2 separate regions of the Homo sapiens genome follow, and region 1 is linked to region 2. Evidence: promoter capture Hi-C in 16 types of primary human blood cells and fetal thymus (Javierre and others, 2016). All regions are on one chromosome and are shown on one strand. Each heading gives the region's core, a stretch centred on a gene start or on the middle of the fragment in contact. The rest is flanking DNA. Distances are from core to core; before and after follow the strand shown.

Evidence for each region. The method cuts DNA at HindIII sites, captures the fragments that hold promoters and counts their contacts. A CHiCAGO score of 5 or more calls a contact.
Region 1: a fragment that was not itself captured here is called in contact with the fragment with the promoter of ASB2 in region 2 in 2 of 17 cell types (endothelial precursors and M2 macrophages); the score reaches 5.9 in endothelial precursors.

Annotation. Positions count from the first base shown.
Region 1 is chr14:93,649,019-93,653,400 of GRCh38, forward strand. All of the region lies in intron 38 of UNC79 (unc-79 subunit of NALCN channel complex), which reads left to right. Among named protein-coding and RNA genes, the nearest start is that of PRIMA1, 140 kb to the right of the region's middle. The HindIII fragment of the contact is 226 bases long and covers 2,057-2,282 here.
Region 2 is chr14:93,974,231-93,978,377 of GRCh38, forward strand. ASB2 (ankyrin repeat and SOCS box containing 2) reads right to left here and starts at 2,340. Exons shown (of 10, transcript NM_001202429.2): 1 at 2,204-2,340. It overlaps LOC107984663 (a long non-coding RNA gene), which reads right to left. Exons shown (of 4, transcript XR_001750861.2): 4 at 3,195-4,147. RefSeq lists an enhancer at 821-1,392. The HindIII fragment of the contact is 23,075 bases long and covers 2,313-4,147 here.

The DNA.
Region 1 (4,382 bases), core at 920-3,419, 330 kb before region 2:
AACCAGAAGAGGGCAGGGACGGATGCTGTGTGTGACTTTGGCCACATTGATCTCTCTGCCTTAGCTTCCTCATCTGTAAAAGAGAGATACTAATATATGCCTTCTTGTGCCTCAGGGGTATTTTCTGTGGACTCAAATGATAGAGTGTATATGATAGCATAACTGTAGCAGGTCCTACAAACATAAGATGATATTATTGTTGACATCGCATTTCTATAATTTATTTTAGGGATGTTTGCTTTTCTTTCTTATGTTCTATTCGATGAATGGCTTTTTAAAAAACTTATTTTCTTAACATTTTTTATGGAAGATTTTAAACATACTGCAAAGTTGAAAGAATTATACAGTGAACTCTCATATACCTATCACCTAGATTTTAAAACAAATATTTTATTTTCTTTATCATGCATCCAACCATCTATCTATCCATCAATTCATTTTTTTGGATGTATTTCAGAGTAAATTTCAGATATTAGAATATATTTTCCCCTACATACTTCAGCAAAGTTAGCATTAACTCAAGTTCAATTTTTGTATACAGTTGTTTCTTTTTTCCTCCAGCTTTATTGAGGTATAATTGAGAAATAAAAATTATATCTATTTAAGATATAAATGTGATCTTTTGATAGATGTGTACATTGTGAAATGATTACCACAATCAAGCTAATTAACATATCACCTCACATAGTTATCTTTTTATTTTTTGGTGAAAACATTTGAAATCTACTCTCTCAGCAAATTTCAAGTATACGATACATTGTTGTTAACTATACTCACCATATTGTACATTGACGATGGTTGTTTCTTTTGTAAAATTTACATACAAGGAAGTGCACAAATCTTAAGTGTTTATTCCTTGAGTTTTGTCAAATGCATATGACTGTGTAACCCAAACCCCTGTAAAGATAGAGAACATTACCATTATTCCCAGAAAGTTCTCTCGTGCACGTTTCCAGCTAATCTCTACCCCCATAGAGGCAAACACTGTTGTGATATTTTTCCACATGGGTTGATTTTGCCCATTCTAGACTTCATGTCAATGGAATCCTACTGTATGCACTCTTTTGTGTCCAACTTCTGTTACTCAGCATGATGTTTTTGAGATTTATCCATGTTGCTGCTTTTTTATCAGGAGTTTGTTTCTTTTTCAAGGCTGAATTGTATCCCATAATTTGCTTTTTTATTTTCTTATTGAAGGACTTCTAGGTTTTTTCAGTTGGGGGGTATAAAAAAATAGATCTATTGTGAACATTCTTATAAAAGCCCTTTTTAAAACAAGTGTTTTTATTTCTCTTGGGTAAAATACCTAGGGATGATATTGTTGGGTTACAGGATAGGTATATGTTTAATTTTATCAGAAACTACTGGAACTTCTCTTAAAGTGGTTATGCCACTTTATATTACCAATCATCAATGTATTCTGGTTGTTTCATATTCTTGCCCAACTTTGGCATTGTTGGTCTTTTTAATTTTGGTCATTCTGGTGGATGTGTAATGGGTATTTCATTATAGTTTTAACTTGCATTTCTCTATGACATTTTTTCAAGTGCTCATTGACCCATTGCGTATATTCTTTTGAGAAGTGTCTGGTCAAATCTTTTGAATATTTTAATTGGGTTGTTGTCTTTTTATTGCTGAGTTGTAAGACTTTATATATACTGAATACTAGTCCTTTGTTAAGTATGTTTTGAGAATATTTTCACCCAGTCTGGGGCATGCCTATTTCTTTTCTTAGTGGTATCTTTTGCTGAGAAATGTTTAATTTAGGTGAATTCTAATGCATTAAAACAAAACATTACAATTATTGCTTCTTTTTATTTGTCTAAGAAACCTTTGTTTACTTCCAAGTCATGCAGATATTCTCTAATGTTTTCTTATAAAGGCTTTATGGTTTTCATATGTATATTTGGCATTTATAAAACCCATCTCAAATTAATTTTTATGTATGGTGTGAGGCAGCAGTAGGAGTTCATTTTTATCTATGTGGATATTCAGTTTTTCAGCACAGTTAAAAAAGATATTTTCTTTTCTTATTGGATCACTGTGGTGCCTGTTAAGCTTAGAAACCATGGAAGGGTGGATCTATTTCTGGGCTCTCTATTCTGTTCCATTGATCTATATATTAATTCTTAAGTTTGCACCACACTGTCTTGATTATAGTACCTTCATAGTAAGTAGTAAGTGTTAAAGTCAGGTAGCATTAGTCCTCCAAATTTAGTTATCTTTTTCAAGATTGGTTTGGATCTCTACATTCTTTACATTTTCATATAAATTTTGGAATAAGCTTGTCATTCTTATCAAAAAAGTCTGCTGGGCTTGTATTGAAAGAACAAATCAATTTGGGGGTAACTGACAGCATGAAAATATTGAATCTTCCAATTCATGAACATGGTATATATCTCATTTTCATGAGATCTTTAATTTCTCTCAGCAATGTTTTTTAGTTTTCAGTGTAGAGGTCTTGCCATTTTTGTTAAATTTATTCTCAAGAATTTTATGTTTTTTATACTAATGTAAATGGAATTTTTAAAAATTTCAACTTTTTGTTGCTGATATCTAAATAACAATTGATTTTTGCATATTAGCATGTATTCTAGCTAAATTCACTTATTAGTTCTAGTAGTTGCTTTGTAGATCTCTTTAGGATTTGATTTTGTATGGAAAAATCATCTGTAAATAGCAAGAGTTTTACTACTTCCTTTCTGATCTTTATGCCTTTTGTTTCTTTTGTTTTTTTTGAAACAGAGTTTCGCTCTTGTTGCCCAGGCTGGAATGCAGTGGTGCAATCTCGGCTCACAGCAACCTCTGCCTCCTGGGTTTAAAGGATTCTCCTGCCTCAGGCTCCCAAGTAGCTGGGATTATAGCATGCACCACCATACCTGGCTAATTTTGTATTTTTTTTTTTTTTTTTTTTTTTTTTTTACTAGAGGCCATGGTTTCTCTATGTTGGTCAGGCTGGTCTGGAACTCCTGACCTCAGGTGATCCACCCACCTCGGCCTCCCAAAGTGCTGGGATTACAGGCGTGAGCCACCGCACCCCGCCTTTTGTTTCTTTTTATTGCCTTATTGCAATGGCTCAGACTGCCAGTGTAATCATAGAGATGGGAGAGTCGGCACCCTTTTCTTGTTTCCTCTCTTACAGGGAAAGTATTCAATATTTACTATTAATCGCAGTAGCTATAGGTTTTTTTATAGATGCCCTTTAGCAAATTGAGGTATTTCCAGTTTGAGGGTTTTTGTTGTTGTTGCTGTTGCTGTTGTTGAGGCAGGGTCTTGCTCTATCACCCAGGCTGGAGTGCAGTGGCACCATCTTGTCAGTCTCAACCTCCCTGGCTCAAGTGATCCTCCCACCTCAGCCTCCTGAGTAGCTGGGACTACAGGTGTGTGCCACCATGCCCAGCTAGTTTTTTGTATTTTTTGTAGAAATGAGGGGGGTTTGCCCTGTTTCCCAGGCTGGTCTCCAACTCTTAGGCTCATGCAGTCTTCCTGCCTTGGCCTCCCAAAATGCTGGGATTACAGGCGATAGTCACTGTGCCTGGCCCAGTCTGAGTTTTTGTCATGATGTGTGTTGACTTTTGTGAGATGTATTTTCTGCATCTATTGAGATATAAGCTTTTTGTCCGTTATTTCTTAATATATTGAATTATACTGGCTGATTTTTGAGTATTAAACTATTGTTATTCTCTTGGAATAAACTCTACTTGGTCATGACCCTACTTGGTCTTTTAATCTATAGCTGGATTCAGTGGCCATGACGACTATGGGTCTGTCTGTCCTCTTCCCATTTCTTTTCTGTTTCCTTCTTTTTTAAAATTTATTTTGATAATGGCTTTATTAATTTTAGTTTTAGGGCTATGCTGCCTGCATCAAACAAATTGGGAAGGGTTCTCTCCTTCTCTATTTTCTGAAGTTATTGTAAGTTCGGCGTTATTTTTTCCTGAAGAATATTTTTGACCTAAAACTTTGAACCAGCATTTCAGGGTAGATGTGGCACAATGAGGTAATAATTGGCATAATTAGGTAAGCAGTACTTCTTACTCTTTATCTATTTACGTTCTTTGATTTTCTCTTTTTTCCTTCTGGTAACTTACCCCCTAACTACATCAAGAAGCATCCTTTCTGGTACCTTAGTCTAAGGGGCAGGGCCTCATAAATTTGGCCCTACTTTTGATGTGCAGAGGTGCACATGAAGGGTGAAGGTCAAATTGCACCTGTCAAAGTCCAGCCTTTTTACAAGTGTCAGCTCAGATGCCCAAAGAAAACTTCCCACATCTCCTAATGAGAATGAACATCTCTCTCACTGCATATATATATATATATATGAATTTTTTTTTCCTCAGAGCAACTCTGTCTTAGCCAGTGACACTTTCCTGGGAGGATTT
Region 2 (4,147 bases), core at 1,090-3,589:
TTTTTAAAAAACAGATAGTTTAGGAATTTCAATTTACCTTTATTTCAGCACCACCTCCCCAAAAACATTCCTCCCAACCACAAAGCTCTTAATAACTTCATTTATATTCCTGGGCGTTAATTATTCCAAACAATGGTGCTAAGGAAAGAGAACCACAGACACAAGCCACTCCTGTGACAGCTGGCTCCTGTGGGCAGCCTGATCCTCTGCAGCGCAGAAATGGAAGGACACTGGGCAGGCCCAGAGATATTTTTGTGCCTCCTTTGGGAAGGCTCTTTGGATCTAGCCTGTCCACAATATACGGGCACCTTATGATGCCTTGAGTGTGCCAGAGACATTTCCCCTGGGTGCACGATGGTCCTGTTTACCACTGCCACAGTACCTTGAGAGGCCACAGGACGCTGTGGCTTTGAATGTGGACCTTGCAGACCAAAAGGTCAGATTCCTGACTCCAACACTTGCAGCCGTCCAGCCTTAAGCAAGACTTTTAAGCTCTCATAACCTGTTTCCAGACCTGAAAATGGGAGTAACGATCACCTGTAACTCATGGTAGCCTTGACCGAAGTCAGTGAGAGAAATCTGCACACAAGCTTGGGCCAGTGCTCAACAAAGGCTTGCTGGTATGGCCTGTGTTGTTGTTCACTGTGAGGTCACCGTGCGTGGGTTAGACAGTGTCCCCCACCCCCGCCACCACAAGGCACTCATGACCCGGCCTGTTTGTGCAAGAACAGATGATGCAAACCAGCATGGCACCCAGCGGAGCTGCTGCCAGCTTCTTGGGGACGCTGTGCAGCACATGGGCCTGCCACCAGCTGTCAGGACCCGTCCAACTGTTTTGGAAGTGCCTCGAGCATCTGCCACTGTCTGCCTCATGGTGCTTCTGCCCAGGCAGAGGTCAGGGCTGTGGCGGGGGTGCTGGCCCCAGCTGGCTCTGCCTGCGTCCCTCTGAGCCCCCTCAAGCCCTCGCCTCACGAAACAAGCTTATCTTCAGAAGAGCATTCCTGTCCTGTGCAGGGGCTCAGCTTCTGCCCTGCTTCAGGCCTTCCTCATTTACCTGCCCTCCCTAGGAGTCACCAGCCTCCTTGCCTCCTCATTCCAGTGCATACCCCTGGCTTCCCGAAGAGCCACCGAAGCCAAATCTCACATCCTCCAAGGGGAATGGGCCACTGAAATGAAAATGATTCTCCACCTAGAGGCACCAGAAACCAAGTCATGTTTCTGGGCCTCCACCTCTGGGGCCTGAGATGTGAACACACGGGTGGGAGTGTAGGTGCCTGGCTGTGTCCCTTCATATCCCAGATGCTCAATGCATGTGGCTATGTGCATGCCGTCCTCTGCTCAAAAACTCTCAGAAAGTGTTCCAACTTCTTGCTTGGCCTGGAAGGATGTGCCTCTCCCTCTGGCCTCCCCTTCTAGCCTCACCCCCATTTTTCACATGCAGAACCCTTTGCCAGAGCCACATTTCACTTTCCATCATCACCCCAGGTCCCTTGACTTCCCTGCCTTTGCCCAAGCTGCTCCTCCACCTGGAGGTCTCTGTTTCCACCCTGAGGCATCCCACCCATCCTTTCAAAGGCCATGGCCTCCTTAAATGTGTCATGCATATGCGTGTGCACACACATGCATGGTATTCTTGCATCCCTGCATTCCACAGCTTTGTTGGATCTCACATAAATAACATTCCTCCATTTCCTCTCCTAATCCCCAAACAGTTGAAAGCAGAGCACATGGCACCTTGGCTGCTATGGTCTCCCACAATACCGTGCATGCCTAGGCACTCTGCAACAGCTACATTAAATTAACTCCCACTCATGAAAACCTCTATCTGTGCGCCTGGCCTGAAAGCATTTCTGAAAGTCACTTGTCTGACACAGATACCGCCCAAGACCTACAGACCCAACAATAGCATCATTGATAAGTCCTTTTGCATTTCCATTTTTAGAAGTGCACAGCAGAGTGATATTCTGAGCCAGAGTCCTCCAGAAGAATGGGTAAGTACATGCAAATTGCTGAGTCTCTGTTCATTGCATCCAAAACGAAAGTCACCAGCGTGCTGTATAACTCAAGAAAATACGAGAGAGAGGGAAAAGCAACATCACAGTTTGACTACAAGCGGTTTCCAGTAAGTACTGCAGCCGAAAATCCCCACCAGCCAAAGAATCTTTTGCAAGATCTGTATAAGAAAGTTGAAAGCATGCATTACCTGTTAGGCTCTGAAACAAGGGTACAATTCAGGGGTAATACAAAGGATTTTCTTGAAAGTGTCTTAATTCAGAACATGCTCCCCGAGTTTTCCTTCTGCCCTGGCCCCAAGCTTCTGGCTGCTCTGCCAGGCAGTTCTGAAACGCTGTCCTTTGAAGCAGGGAGTTTATTTTGGGGCCACCGCATGACCAACGTTGACAAGCCAAACTATAAGATGTTATACATCTCAGATTTCCTGTTTGGAGGTTGCACTGAGGAAGCTGCAATCCTGCCTTCCGTTCCTCCGGGTGCATCGAATACAGACTCTCACTTCAGAGAGGATCCCGGAGCTTTGGCCCTCACGTGATGTCATCATTTGTGATCCTTGACATGGAGGCCATATATGGGTATGTTTCTGGAACTACCCAGGGGAGAGCCAGACAGGAGAGAGATGCAGTGGGTCAGAGACAGAGGCAGGGAACGAGGACGAGGAGACGCATAGTTGGGAGACAAAGAGTGAGGAGCAAGGGAGGAGGAAGAAAGGGGAAGAGGAGAAGTAAAGGCAACAAAGGAGGGAAGGCAAGACAGCAGGAAGGAAGAGGATGGAGTGAAAGAGAAGGGAAGAAGGGGAGAGAGGAGATGAAGGAGTTGACGTAAAAGGGCTTTGGAGAAATCAAGGTTTGGTGCTGAGCTTGTGGCAGCATTTGGGGATAGCAGGTGTCTGGCTGCTGGATACTGTGGGGTGGGGCTGGGGATACAAAGGGCCAGGGTACAAATGAGCCAACAAACAAACACAGAGGCATGCGGGCAAGCCCTGGGCAGAGATATACAACAGAAGAGAGCCCTTCCTCCTGGTCTAGGGAAGAACGTCCCATTTCTGGAATAGGTCAAATGTCAAAGACAACACATACACAGCCACATGCACTGAGCATCCGGGATGTGACAGGACATGGCCAGGCACCTACTCTCCCACCCGTGTGTTCACATCTCATGCCTCAGAGTTAGGGGTCCAGAAACATGACTTGGTCTGTTCCTCTAAGGGGAGAATCATTTTTGTTTCAGTGGCCCATTCCCCTTGGAGGATGTGGATTTATGATGGCCACAGCATGATTTCTCACTGATTCAAACTCAGGAAACCTCAGGATGCCTTTACACGCACTTCGAATATTCCACAAGGAAATACATCTCAGTATACAAGGTGCCACGGGGTTGAGTCAAGGTTCTGGAGGTCTGACTGGTGCTAAAGATGGGAAGGACACCAGTGGTCCCCAGGCAGTCCCCCAGCTTCCCTGGTACCTGCCAAATTGCTCATCACCCCAGCTGGGTCAGTCTTCCCAGGCCACTGTGGCTGGGTGGCCCTCAAAGTTAGCTCAAGTTCAGCCCCTTCCAGACCCATGTGCTATGGAGGGAGTGTAGGAGAAGGGCAGAGAAGGGGCTGTCAGATTCTTTTTACTTTTTGGAGACTCTGCTACCCAGTAGGATGTTCCCCGAGAGACGTCTCTGTGGGACGGCTCCCCGAGGCCGGGCTGCTTTCCTGGGCTCCTTGCTGGAGGCAAAACACAGGTTCCTCTACTTCCTGCCCACCACCTGCCCCTTCCCAATCTGACCTGGAAGGTGGGCTGTGGCCAGGCCAGGCCCCTCCTAGGTTGCCCTCTGCCTCATGGGCATGCACACATGCACACACACACACACACATACACACCCCAAACTCCATCCAAGATGTGTCTATTCCTTCCCTCCCCTTGAATATGGGGTGGCCTAGTGATGGACTTAACAATAGAATGCAGTGGAAATGATGTCCTGAGACTTCCAAGGCTAGGTCATGAGATGCTTTGTAGCTGCCATGTTGTGAGGAAGTCCAAGCAAGCAACACCCAGGGCCCCCAGAGCATCTAGCACCAGGCAGAGGGGTGAAGACACCCTCTCGGAGGTGGATCCTTCACCTGCAGCTGCCACAGCTAATGCCA